Regions from separate parts of the Homo sapiens genome. Here regions 1 and 2 are each linked to region 3. The links are contacts of gene promoters, found by promoter capture Hi-C in blood cells and fetal thymus (Javierre and others, 2016). All regions are on one chromosome and are shown on one strand. Each heading gives the region's core, a stretch centred on a gene start or on the middle of the fragment in contact. The rest is flanking DNA. Distances are from core to core; before and after follow the strand shown.

Region 1 (4,854 bases), core at 1,003-3,502, 160 kb before region 3:
GCCAAGATCACACCACTGCATTCCAGCCTGTGCGACAGAGGGAGATCCTGTCTCAAAAAATAAATAAATAAACGGGCTACCTGAAAAAGCCACCTAGACTTCAACCCAGAGTGGTCTGTTCATGGTCATCAAATATTTACAGAGGGTCAGGCACAGTACTGAGCATGGGGTTACAAGGGTGAATAAGCCCCAGGCCCCACCCTTAAGCAGCGCACAGCCTAGTGGATGAGGAAAATTGACAAACATTATGAGCTTAGACCATTGTGGTAGTACAAGAGAGGGAACCTGTCCTAGCCGGGGTAGAAGGAAGTTCAGGGAAGGCTGCCTGGTGGAGGCGACATCTAGGCTAAGACTCGAAGGCTGAATTAGGTCAAGAGGGGAAGAAGAGTAAGGGCAAACAGCATATGCAGAGACTCAGGAGCTGGACACGGTGGCTCATGCCTGAAATCCCAACACTTTGGGAGGCTGAAGCAGGAATATTCCTTGAGGCTAGGAGTTTGAGACCAGCCTGGGCAACATAGTGAGATCTTGTCTCTACAAAAAAAAAAAAAATTTAATGAGCCAGGTGTGGTGGTGGTGTGCTCCTGCAGTCCCAGCTACTTAGGGGGCTGAGGTAAGAGGATCACTTGAGCCTAGGAGGTCAAGGCTACAGTGAGCCTGGATACAAATGGAGACTCTGGCTCAAAAACGAACAAAACAAAGAAAGAAATAAACAAAAACACAAAGGATCAGGGTCATGAAAGAACCTGGCACATTTAGGGAAATTATGAAGTAGTTCATGGTAGCTGGGACTGGATCAAGAAGAGATGGTTTGAAGGTCCAGATCATGAATAAAATGAATGTGTGTAAAGTGCTTGACGTTGTGCATAGTAAATATTCTGCCATGGTAGCTCATTATAATTCTGGTTTTGTAGGCCAAATTAAGGGTTTGGGATTTTGTCCCGTAGTCAATGGGGAGACATTCAAGAGCTTTAAGCCCAGAGTGACTTGATGAGATTTGCTATATGGCCAGATCCCCGTGGCTCCTTGGTGGATTATGAACTAGAAGAGAAGCAAGGCTGGAGGATCAGAAGGCCACTTTGAAAATTAACAGGTATGGCCAAGCACAGTGGCTCACACCTGTAATCCTAGCACTTTAGGAAGCTGAGGTGGGAGAATTGCTTCAGCCCAGAAGTTAGAGATAGTCTTGGCAACATACTGACCCCATCTCTAGTTAAAAAAAAAAAGAGAGAGAGAGAGAGACTGGGCATGGTGGCTCACACCTATAATCTTAGCACTTTGGGAGGCAGAGGCAGGTGGATCGCCTGAGGTCAGGAGTTCAAGATCATCCTGGCCAACACGGTGAAACCCTGTCTCTACTAAAAATACAAAAATTAGCCAGGCGTGGTGGCGTGTGCCTGTAATCCCAGCTACCTGGGAGGCTGAGGCAGGAGAATTGCTGGAACTTGGGAGGCGGAGGCTGCAGTGAGCTGATATTGTGCCATGGCACTCCAGCCCATGTGACAGAGCCAGACTCAATAAACAAATAAATAAAGCCAGGCACGGTGGCTGATGCCTGTAATCCCAGCACTTTGGGAGGCCGAGGCGGGCAGATCACTTGAGGTCAGGAGTTCGAGACCAGCCTGGCCAACATGCAGAAACCCTGTCTCTACTGAAAATACAAAAATTAGCCAGGTGTTGTGGCGGGTGCCTGTAATCCCAGCTACTTGGGAGGCTGAGGCAGAAGAATCACTTGAACCCAGGAGGCAGAGGTTGCAGCAAGCTGAGATCGCGCTACTGCACTCCAGCCTGGGCGACAGAGCGAGACTCTGTCTAAAAAAATAAATAAAAATAAAAATAATTTTTAGAAAAGAAATTGAGAGGTATGGCAGGTGGGAGGCTTCACTTATATCCCTTAACAATAGAGTAGATAAACATACAGTGGAAAACAAAAAAACAGCAATGAAAATGAACTCACCACAGCTATATGAAACAACATAAAGGAGTTTTGCAAGTGTATTCTTGTGCAAAAGAAGGCAGACACAAAATAATACTGTATAATTCAATTTACATAAAGTTCAAGGAACAGACAAAACGAAACTACAGTGTTTAGGGACACATTCTCAGGTGGTACAACTCCAAAAGCAAGGAAGCGATTATCACAAAAGTAGTTGGAACACCAATTACCCTGCAGAGGTCTTCTGCTTGACTGTTCAGTACCATGGCATGGGTGATGCTAACCCAGGCTCACTTTTTGATAAATCATTAGGTTTTACATTTATGTTTTGTGCACTTTTCCATGTGTGCTATTCTTTTTTTTTTTTTTTTTCTTGAGACGGAGTCTCGCTCTGTTGCCCAGGCTGGAGTGCAGTGGTCTGATCTCGGCTCATCGAACCTCTGCCTCCCAGGTTCAAGCGATTCTCCTGCCTCAGCCTTCTGAGTAGCTGGGACTATAGGCATGCACCACCACACCCAGCTAATTTTTTTGTATTTTTAGTAGAGACGATGTTTCACTATGTTGGCCAGGCTGGTCTCAAACTCCTGACCTTGTGATCTACCCGCCTCGGCCTCCCAAAGTACTGGGATTACGGGCGTGAGCCACCATGCCCAGTCTATTTTGTATACATTTTTTTGAGACAGGGTCTTGCTCTGTTGCCCAGGCTGGAGTGCAGTGGCATGATCATAGCTCTCTGCAGTTTTGACCGCCTGGGCTCAAGTGATCCTCCCACCTCAGCCCCCTAAGTAGCTGGGACTACAGGTGTGTGCTTCCGCACCTGGCTAATTTTTGTGTTTTTTGTAGAGACGCAGGTTTCACCATGTTGCCCAGGCTGGTCTTAAACTCCTGGACTCAAGCAATCCACCCACCTCCACCTCCCAAAGTGCTAGAATTACAGGCATGAGCCACTGCGCCCAGCTATGTTTAAGACACGGTCTCTGTCGCCCAGGCTGGAGTGCAGCTAACTGCAGCTTCGACGTCCAGGGCTCAAGTGATCCTCCCACCTCAGACTCCCAAGTGGCTGGAATTACAGGCCCATGCCACCATGCCCGGCTAATTTTATTTAAAACATTTTTCAGAGACAGGGTCTTGCTACATTGCCCAGGCTGGTCTCTTAACTCCTGACCTCAAGGTATCCTCCCACTTTGGCCTCCCAAAGTGTTGGTGATTACAGGCATGAGCTACTGTGCCAGTCTATCATACACTATTTTTTTTTTTTTTTTGAGACGGAGTCTTGCTCTGTCACCAGGCTAGAGTGCAGTGGTGCGATCTTGGCTCACTGCAGCTTCTGCCTCCCAGGTTCAAGTGGTGTCCCTGCCTCAGCCTCCGGAGTAGCTGGAACTACAGGCGCGTGCCACCGTGCCCGGCTAATTTTTTGTATTTTAGTAGAGATGGGGTTTCACCATGTTGGTCAGGATGGACTCGATCTCCTGACCTCATGATCTGCCCGCTTAGGCCTCCTGGGATAAAGTGCTGGGATTACAGGTGTGAGCCACCACACCCAGCCCCATATGCTATTCTTAACAATAAAAAGGTTTTAAAAATTTGTCTTTGGGAGGCTGAGGTGGGTGGATCACCTGAGGTCAGGAGTTCGAGACCAGCCTGGCCAACGTGGTGAAATCCCGTCTATACTAAAAATACAAAAAAAAAAAAAAAAAAAAAAAAAAAAACTAGTCGGGCATGGTGGCGGGCACCTGTAATCTCAGCTACTCGGGAGGCTGAGGCAGAAGAATCACTTGAACCTGGGAGGCAGAGGTTGCAGTGAACCGAGATCGCGCCACTGCACGCTAGCCTGGGCGACAGAGCAAGACTCCTTTTCAAAAAACAAAACAAAATTGGGCTGTGTGTGGTGGCTCATGCCTGTAATCCCAGCACTTTGGAAGGCTGAAGCAGGAGGATTGCTTAAGGCAAGGAGTTCAAGGTTACAATGAGCTATGAGTGCACATCAGTCTGGGAGATAGACTGAGACTCTGCTTCTAAAAAAAAGGGGGGTAGGGGTGGGAAACGCCAGCTCTTAAGGTAGTCATTAGAATGGTGAGAAGAGGTTGGGTTTTGTTTTGTTTGAGACGGAGTTTTGCTCCTGTCACCTAGGCTAGAGTGCAATGGTGTGATTTCGGCTCATTGCAACCTCTTCCTCCCGGGTTCAAGCGATTCTCCTGCCTCAGCCTCCTGAGTAGCTGGAATTACAGGCGCTTGCCACCATGCCCAGCTAATTTTTGTATTTTTAGTACAGATGGGCTTTCACCCTGTTGGCCAGGCTGGTCTCAAACTGCTGACCTCAGGTGATCCACCCGCTTTGGCCTCCCAAAGTGCTGGGATTACAGGCGTGAGCCACCGCACCCAGCTGAGAAGAGGCTGGTTTTGACATGCGGAAAGTGAGCAAACGGAGAAGATGAGGCATGTATCAGGTGAAAAGCAGTGCTGAACACTGTGAGATAGAGAAACCTTTAAGATACTTAACTATCCAGGCCGGAGGCGGTGGCTCACGTCTGTAATCCCAGCACTTTGGGAAGCCGAGGTGGGCGGATCACCTGAGGTGGGAAGTTCGAGACCAGCCTGACCAACAGGGAGAAACCCCGTCTCTACTAAAAATACAAAATTAGCCGGGCGTGGTGGCGCATGCCTGTAACACCAGCTACTCAGGAGGCTGAGGCAGGAGAATCGCCTGAACCCTAGAGGCGGAGGTTGCAGTGAGCCGATATTGCACCACTGCACTCCAGCCTGGGCAACAAGAGCGAAACTCCGTCTCAAAAAAAAAAAAAAAAAAAAAGATTGAACTATCCAGGGCCACTGTGTCCACTCAGACCAGTCACATCGCCTGAATCTAGATCCCTTCTTCACAAAACAGGGAGGCCAGAGTGGTTTAATGGAACCAGCCC
Region 2 (4,182 bases), core at 1,302-3,801, 220 kb after region 3:
ATTATTCCAGAGCACGACCAGAAACATCCAGAGATCACAGCCACCCTTTTGACAGAAAGGCTGTGACTCACCCGGAGGTCACAACACACTTTTAGGGGCCAAACTTTGTCCTCTGCTTCTGCTACTCGGCGTCTCTGCTAAAGGCATTCAACAGCTTTCCTCCGGCACTGGCCTGGGAGCACTGGGGGTCTAACTTGAACACCTCATGCTGAATTTAGAGCAAGTGTCTTCTTGTCCTGCCTGCAGCGTGAAGCCAAGAAACGGCTCTGTTTTGCCCCAGGCCTACCCAACACATAAGCAGCGTTGGTGAGGCCTGGATGTCAAGATGCCTGGGTTCCTATTCCGGCTCTGGGTATAGCTTACCATGTGACCTCGGGCTGCTGTTGCCAATCCTTGAAAATGGAAAAGAGGGCAGCCCAGGTGGTCTCCAATGTGCTGCTCACAGTTAGGAATAGGGAAAGGGGTTGTCTCCAGGGGTCCCCTGATGGGGCCACCCAAGAGGTACAGGTGCCCCTTAGCTGAGAGAGACCTGGCTGGCTTTATAAAGTACCTGCCCCCGAGGCACTGGCAGTGGTGGACCGGGAAGGGCACACAGACATCTCCAGGAAGCAGTGTTTAAATGTTGGCAATGCCCTTCCCTTCCAGGAGGAATGGAAGAGGAGTGTCCCAGACACTGGGACAAGGAGGGAAATAAGGGTGAAGTAGAGAAATGGCTGGGGCAGGGAACAGTTGAGTGCTACAGAAAAACTGAGGCAGACAGGATAGAAGATGGGTCGGGGTTGGGGGGGACGAGGAAATGGTCATTGGTGGGCAAAGACCAAAGGATGTCACTATGGGTGTAGAGGCCAAGTTTCAACAAGGGCTGTAGACTAGGGGCAACTGAGGGGGACGGAGTGGGCACTGATGGACACATATACGGGATACAAATGAAGGACAGAGAGTCGCGGTGGTTAGGGAGGAGCCTTTGGGCCCTAGGGCAGTGGTGATGCTGATATAGGGTATTGGCGCTGACCAGTGGGAGAAGAGGATGAGATCCTGAACCTGGGTGGAGAGGGAGAGAGAGCTGGCAACAGCCAAAGCCCTCAAATGAGCCGCTGCCTGTGCTGGGGGCACCTCGGCCAGCCCCAGAAACCTGGGGAGTGCTGGAATCAGCCCCACGGAAAAAGAAGCTGGCATGCGCAACCCTGGCGACGCCCGAAGGGTTTGGAGAGAAGAGGTTCCAAGGAGCGAGCACCTCGGAAGACCTGAGCAGCTTCAAACAGCAGCTTCTCTGCCCGCCACAAGGGGGTGCCCTGCACCTCGGGGAGACCTCGGGGGATCCTGGATCAGCCCTACCCTCTGCAGCCCCGCCTGGGACAGGGCCCGACGTTGCCAGAGAAGAGGCAGCGGGGAGGCGCGAGCGAGACGGGTCCACACTGTGCCCACCCAGGGCTGCCCGGCACCCCGCGCGCCCACGCAGTCCACTCTTCACAGTAAACGCCGCGGCCCCCGAGGGTTAGCCCTAAGTGGCGCTCTCTTTGGACGTTAGGCTGTCGGGGGCCCCGTCCTTCTTCCCCAGCGGGGACGGTGTCTCCGGAGTCGGGTCCTAAGGAAGAGAGCAGCGCTGGCTCTCGCTCACCGCCAGCCCGCCCGACGGCCATAGGGCAGGGGGGGTCGCGCCGGTGGGGCCGGCAGGGGTCCCTGTGGGCCGCCTCCCCGGCTCAGAGGGGACCAGAACCGTGCGTGTCGCCGCGGCTGGAGTCAGCCTCCGGGTGTCCCCGGACGCGGCACGACCTCGCACACACACACCGCGCGCACACGCTCGCGCCGTGCGGTATTTTCCCGGCCCCGGACCCCGCCTCTGGGAGGGGCCGGGGAGCCGAGCCCCGCTAGCAGGGTTGGGGGACCGGGAACGCCTGGGTCCCAGCCCTCGCGTCAGGGCTGTGCGCCACCTTCCCAGCCCCTTTTGGCGCGCCGGCTCGGCCCCTGGCGCTGCCACCCCTCGGCCCGCGGGGGTCCCGGAGGCTCCCGGGCGCGCGGCGGACGAGGTTGTGGGGACGGGTGGGAGCTGCGGGCTTCGGGCCGAGAGGCGGCTCGGCTCCGCGCCGGGGAAAGTTTGGACGTGGGAAACTCCCTCCCCGCCCTCCCGGCCGAGAGGAGGGGGCGCGCAGGGCCGGGCGCAGGCACCCCGGCTCCTCCTGCGGCTGGAGGCTCGCCCCCCGCGCCGCCTGCCCGGCCGCTCCCGCCGGCCAGGGGGCTCCCTCCCTGCCGGGCAGCCTCCCCTCGGCGGCGATCCGGCCGCTCCTCCCGCGGCACCCCGCGCTCTTACCTCGGGGAGCGGCCCGGGGCTCCCCCTAGTCCTGCCGCCTCGGGACGCTGCGTGGGGCGGGAGCCCCGGCGCGGGCAGCGGGCGAGTCCGGAGCCCCGCGGCCGCCCGCAGGAGCCGGAGGGAGAGCGGGAGCGAGAGGGGGAGCCGCGGCGGCGTGTGCGCGCGTGTGTGTGAGCGAGAGAGCGAGAGAGCGAGAGAGCGAGGGAGTGAGCGAGCGAGCGGGAGCGAGGGAGTGTGCGTGTCTGACTGGGGGGAAGTGTGCAAGGGACGGATCCCTTCCTTCCTCCCGCAGCCTCTGGTGGAGACTCGGAGAATGCAGGGCCCGCCGGGCAGGAGCCGCGCAGCGCCAAGCCGCAGGCGGCCGCCGGCCCGGACCCCCGCAGCCGGGGAACCCCAGCCCCCGCCCCCCGGATCGCGCCCCTCCTACACCAGGAGGGGACAGCCTTTCCCTCTCTCGGGCGGCCCAGTCCCAGGAAACCCCCCAGGGGACAGTGCCCCTCCCTCCTCCAACCCCAGATCCGCGCGAAGGGAGCGCCCCCAGGAGGGGGACCATCTACCTCCTCGCCTGGCAGCTCCCCAGGTGGCCGCAGTTTGAGACCAGAGCCTATTTCCCCACCTGATTTTACTGCGAATAGGGCTTCCCATTTCCGCCCCCTGACTACTGCGGGAGGCCGCCTTCAGAGGAGCAGGGGCGCAGGCCAGGGTAGGAGCAGGCTTCTCGAACAGTGGCCGCCCCGGCTTGCTGCCCAGAAAGGCACCTTGCACAGACCAGATCTGCCAGTTCAGAAACAGTCACTGTGCATTGAGGTGGACACCGACCAGGTGCCCAGGGCTGAGTCTCCAGGCAGGTGGGAGGTCGGGTGTCCCCGGGAGAGAAACTTGTGGGCTTTTCCTCTGGAGAGTCCCGCTGGACATCCTTGCAACCAACAAAGTAAGCAGGCAAAACAAGACACCTCCATCCTTAACTTGGTGCCACCTTGACCTGGAGAAGTCTCCCAATAAAATCTTCCCACTGCCCAGAAACTCCTTGCTGGTTGGGTTTTCCGTTCTTTTAAAAATCCGGCTGGTCTGCTCCCTGATGTTTTTTCCACCTGGCCCTGTTTCTTTCTCCTGGCTGCCTGGCTCTCCTTACTACTTCATCTCTCTGGGATGAGGCCTAATGGAGGAGACCCTCCCACCCCACTCCTGAGTTCCCAATATGAGGTCGTTGATGGTAGGATAGGACCAGTGACTCCCATAGACCCACCCTTTGTCTTGGGTTGTAGGTCCCCTTAGGAGTTGCCCGCCCCCCTATTCCCCATGGCTTCCAGATAGGTGAGTGAAGGATAACAGGAGACTGGACAGCTGCAGACCTCTGTCCCGCCAAGCTGCCAATGACCAGCCATTTAATCACCCACAAGCAGCTGCTGAAGTTCATGGCAAAGAGGGGGCAGGGCCCTCCAGGACCCCCAGCTCTACCTCGCCCCTATCCTTCTCTCCTCCTCGCCTCCTTCCCCAATTTCCATCTCCATCTCCACACCCTAGTCCGTCTTGCTGATGATTGGAATCACCTCTCCTGCTGGCTGCCCCTCTGGCCCCTCCTACTAAACTCCATCATTCATTTATTTATTTTGAGATGTATTCTCCACTGTGCCAGTCTGTTCCCTCCCCTACGTCCTTCTCTTGGTTTATTTCCCTTCATTGATCTCTTCCAGCCTTGCCTTTCTATCGCCTTCCTTTTCTCCATCTCTCTCTTCCCCTCTCCTCTCTATTCTTAGCCTCCACTCTTTCATGCTTTCAGAGACCAGAGGCCAGCCTTCCAGGTGCATCTCTTCACTTTTGGTTCTCTCCTCCCGCTCTGACTCACTTTTGCTGTTTGCTCCAGTTCCCATTCC
Region 3 (4,596 bases), core at 1,886-4,385:
ATGAGAGGATAGCAGGAGAAAGGCATCATGATAACTTCCTCTCTCAGATATTGACATTGCACATATTTAGCACATAAATGCCTCTGAGAAGTTTTGGAGTAAGGACACCACTATATCTCAACATTTCCCAATTTTGCTTGACCCTGAAATCAATTATCTCCAATGATGTCTTGAATATGTTCTACTAATTATGTGATCTGGGGCAAGAAATCTAACCTCTTTGAGTCATCATTTCCCTATAAATAAAAAAGATCAAACTAGTTTATCAGTCTCATAAGATGACGGGCAGGAGCAATGATTTAGTATTTACCATATGCACTACTGGCTGTATGTTATTATCATTACTACACTAAGAGTAACAGTGACTTCAGGAATAGACGTTTCATTCTTCACGTGGGGAGTCAAAAACAAGAGAACAACCTAAACTGAAGGGAAGAAAAAGTTTAATATATTTCTTGTGAAGATTTTCCATTCTTAAAAGCACAACTAAATTTTATTAATCCTCACAGTAGTAAAACATTACACAAAGGCACTGCCATCTGCAGGTCATAAACATGGACTGCTTGCAATGATTATTTAAAATGAAGTTTCAAACCAATAAATCTTTTCTCATCAGACTACGAAAGTCTTTCCAAAAATTGTTTATTCTGGTTGGACGCGGTGGCTCATGCCTGTAATCCCAGCACTTTCGGAGGCAGAGGCGGGCAGATCACCTGAGGTTGGGAGTTCGAGACTAGCCTGACCAACATGGAGAAACCCCGTCTCCACTAAAAATATACAAAATTAGCCGGGCGTGGTGGCGCACGCCTGTAATCCCAGCTACTTAGGAGACTGAGGCAGGAGAATTGCTTGAACCCGGGGGCCAAGATCGCACCACTGCACTCCAGCCTGGGCAACAAGAGTGAAGCTCTGTCTCAGAAAAAACAAAAACAAAACCAAAACAAACAAGTTGTTTTTTCTTAGCTCTCAAGCACTGGTAGATGAGTTTCCATTTGCTGAAGTTCTGAAACGGACGCCGGGCTTAAATCAAATTCTCAGAAATGTGAAGAAAATGACCTTAGCCTTACGTAAATTCTACATTGTGATCATACCAAGGTAACCCCAAAGAAACATGTTTTTAACAGGGGGAGAGATACATACACACACACACATATATATACATATACATATATATATATTTTTTTACACAGCCTTTGAGGGGAGGGGAAGAAAACTTGAATAAGCCTGAACTGACTTATGGGACTTTCCTGTCAATGATTTAAATTAAATCTGCTCTTACATTCACATAAACAGATCTTATGAACACACTATTAACTTACAAGTAAGTTAATCTGTCAATGCCTCCTTTAAACTTGTGGTGTTCACAGGTATGCAACATTGAGCAAACTGAATCTAGAAAAACTCCTTCCAATGAGCCTTGCAATATGGATTCGCTGGGACATTCTACAAGGAAAATCAGTGTTTCTAAGTTTTAGGTTAAGAGAAGTGTCAGAGGTTTCAAAGGCAATCTGAAGAGTGACAGATGAGCTCAAAGAAAGGCAAAGAAATCACAATAAAGGAAGAAATGGATGTTAACAAATAGCCAAGTGATTTCTAATATCCACAATGCAAAGCATGGGCTTTACTGGTTGCAAAAAGTAGACACAAAGTTAGTTTTCACACCCAGACTGACTCATAGAGAAAACATTAAATTAAGAGTTGTCAAAACTCACAAAAGCTTCCCCAGCATTTGTAGAAACATCTTTTTATGAGCCAACAGGGGGCTACGACATCACAACGCTGTAAGAAAATTCAGGCACACCGGGTGCACCTGAGTGAACACAGTTCTTGCAGTTCCCTGGGACTAACACTTTTAAGTCAACAAAGAGAACAGTTTACAAGAAAGCTGTTACATTATCCCTGAAGAGCCCAGGGCATTCATAGAATCTGCTTTGCCTCAGGAAAAATTCTGTGCACAGAGTGCAAGCCAGAAGAACCACAATTAATCAGCTACTCCTCGGGCAGCGTTTCCCAAAGTGTGGAACGCAGAATAATTTCAGGAGGAACAAGGACGCACTGTTTATTTCAACAGACAGATATTTATTTTTTTTATAAGCATTAGAAAAATAACTGGCTTTCCAGTACCCGGTTTGTGATTGAAGTTGCCGCCTTAAATATATTTAAGGAGAAAAAAAGAGTCAGTTTGAATTTTTTAAAAAATGTAACATTTGGTAAATAGCAGTACAGATGGTCCACGGACATAAAGGTGCAACGCGAGACTGAAACGTGTGCAACGCCGTCCTAAGAGAAGCCCCTCGCCCGCTGGCGGGGAGCGGACAGTGCCCCGCGCCGGGAGCTTGGAAAGCCGGCCGGATCGGACGCTGGCGCTGAGCTACGTGGTAAACCCGGGAACAGTTCCTCTCCCCGTTCTCTGGGCCCGAGGTCCGCGCCTACAAAACGCGTGGGGTGTCACACCACAAGGAGACACCCCGAGAATGCGGTCAGGGGCCGCGAGACGGTGGCGGGGGACAGCGCTCAGTACACCGCTCGGCGCTGCACGCCTGGAGAACGCCCGGTGCCACGGGACGCCTTGGGCCCGGTTCGAATCCCGACTGCGCCACTGACTCGCTGAGGACCCGCGGGCGAGCGACTCCACCGTTTCGACAGGGGGTGCGGGATGTGCGGCTCAACCAGAGAAGCCTTGAGGACTCCTAGTGACCGACCGTTCGTGCACAGACAGGCGGCTGCGATGCGACGCCGCCGACCTGCGTCCACCACAGAGAACCGTAGGCCGCCTCGGCCGGCCGGGCCTGGGCCTGACGGGAGCCGGAGGCGGCCGCGCCCCGCACCGGGCATGCGCAGCACCGCGCGCACCCGGAGAGGAGCCGAGACCGTGGCCGCGCGTCGAGTGGGCCTTCCCGCCTCAGCCTCCCCGTCCGGCCAGGCCCCCCACAACGGCCTGCCCGTCAGCCCCACGCCTCGGCTGACGGCCAGCGCTTCCCGGCACTCACCGCTACCAGCGCGGCGGGCTCCCGGCCGCTCCTTCGCCTCAGGCCCGCCGCTGCCGCCTCCGCGTCGGCCCACCTGCCCGCCGTAGGACAAAGGCGCCACCAACCGACCGGCGCGGGCACGAGGCAATGGCGGCCGGGCGGAGAGTGGAGATGGGGGCAGAGGGCGCGCACGTAGCGGCAGGCGCGGCACTGTCGCAAGACCGCGCGTGTTTACGGCAGGGCTGAGTTGGGGCGTCGATCTCCTTGGCAATGAGGGCCCGGGAAGTGGCTCTCGGGCGGGAGTTGAGAACGCAGGGAGTTGCCTAGCAACAGCGTCCTAGGCTGAGGATGGGCCCCACGGTGGTCGCCTCAGCCCCCGCCCCAGAGTACTTTTTTTCTGTTTTCAGAGCACATTCCCTCCTCCCTAACTGTGGGAACAGAACATTCAAATCCCCAAATACCTTGATTTAGTCTTGCATAAAACTGAAAGCAAAAACCCCAAATCCCTATACACGTGTGTATTGGAGAATATATATAGTCCTGTAACCTCCGGACCACAAGGAACAAAGAGAGCAGAAAGGTGGAGAAAATGTTGTATTTAAATTTACATTTAAATAGGCTCTGTACTCTATTAGTTTCACTGACAAGCGGCAAAAGGTTTCTGGAGATATAGTCACAGGTTCTTCTTGAGTTATTTATTCTTGGAATATTCGTTCAACGTCAAAAATTTCCCGGAATGTAACTGTTGACCGTGAAGCCTGTAAAATGTTGTACTGTTCATTTCATGTATAGAATACATTTGTCACAGGGAATGGGATTTGCTCACACAATAGTAAATGCACTCTATTAATCACAGCCATAGCTATATTAATCAGGTACTCTTTTATTAGTGTTGGAAACGCCTCAGACTCCATGGGGTCTAGTTCTTCTCCTTGCGAATATTGCCTACTAAGAAAAAATGGTGCCTGCGGAATTTAAACACTACAAGAAGCCAGATTTCTTTGACATCTACCCCTATGCTCACTCCACTCATTTATTCACTGAATGTTTATTACATACCTACTATGTAGCCCTATACTTATTATATGCCTGCTTGTTAGGCGCTGTTATGAGCAAATGCAGACCCTTTTCTGCTATCTTTGAGATTACAGTCTGGTGAAAGCATTAGACGAATAATCACACTTGAGTGTGTAATTGCAAACTGAGATAAACGCTGTGATGGAAAGAAATAGGGATTCTCAATGGTTGTAACTAGAACTTTAGTTTACTCACAGGCAAAGTGGGTTATTCCAATTCCCACTTTATAAGACTGTATGAAATTAGAAATGAAGACATAAAGTCTGTCAAATAATGGATACCCAACAAATGTTCATTCTTATTCCTTTCCCTCCAATATAGATCCTAATACTATGAAAATTTAAGAAGAATCATATTAATTAGATGATTAAGATAACCAAGCTTAGGGAAAAATGTTGGTTTAGAGGTGAGTGGCAGTACCTCAAGTGGGTAGTGGACTTTAGCCAAAAGATGTATTCAGTGACTTGTGTATTAAGTGTTTAATGAGTGTTTTTTATGCACTTGATTTTGTGGAGAGTAGAGAGTAAGGTAGACAAAATCCTTGTGCTTA

What was found. Contacts are between HindIII fragments. The CHiCAGO score rates a contact against its expected background, and 5 or more counts as called.
Region 1: a contact is called between a fragment that was not itself captured here and the fragment with the promoter of NCOA5 in region 3, in 1 of 17 cell types (fetal thymus). The highest score is 5.3, in fetal thymus.
Region 2: a contact is called between the fragment with the promoter of CDH22 here and the fragment with the promoter of NCOA5 in region 3, in 4 of 17 cell types (erythroblasts, endothelial precursors, neutrophils and 1 more). The highest score is 7.1, in erythroblasts.

The regions. Positions count from the first base shown.
Region 1 is chr20:45,927,352-45,932,205 of GRCh38, forward strand. No RefSeq gene overlaps it. Among named protein-coding and RNA genes, the nearest start is that of PCIF1, 4.9 kb to the right of the region's middle. RefSeq lists an enhancer at 1-253. The HindIII fragment of the contact is 8,397 bases long and covers 1-4,854 here.
Region 2 is chr20:46,305,947-46,310,128 of GRCh38, forward strand. It overlaps CDH22 (cadherin 22), which reads right to left and starts at 2,552. Exons shown (of 12, transcript NM_021248.3): 1 at 2,309-2,552. The HindIII fragment of the contact is 22,305 bases long and covers 1-4,182 here.
Region 3 is chr20:46,086,827-46,091,422 of GRCh38, forward strand. It overlaps NCOA5 (nuclear receptor coactivator 5), which reads right to left and starts at 3,136. Exons shown (of 8, transcript NM_020967.3): 1 at 2,991-3,136. RefSeq lists enhancers at 1,608-2,422, 2,360-2,569, 2,423-3,236, 3,250-3,299 and a silencer at 2,740-3,089. The HindIII fragment of the contact is 2,710 bases long and covers 1,716-4,425 here.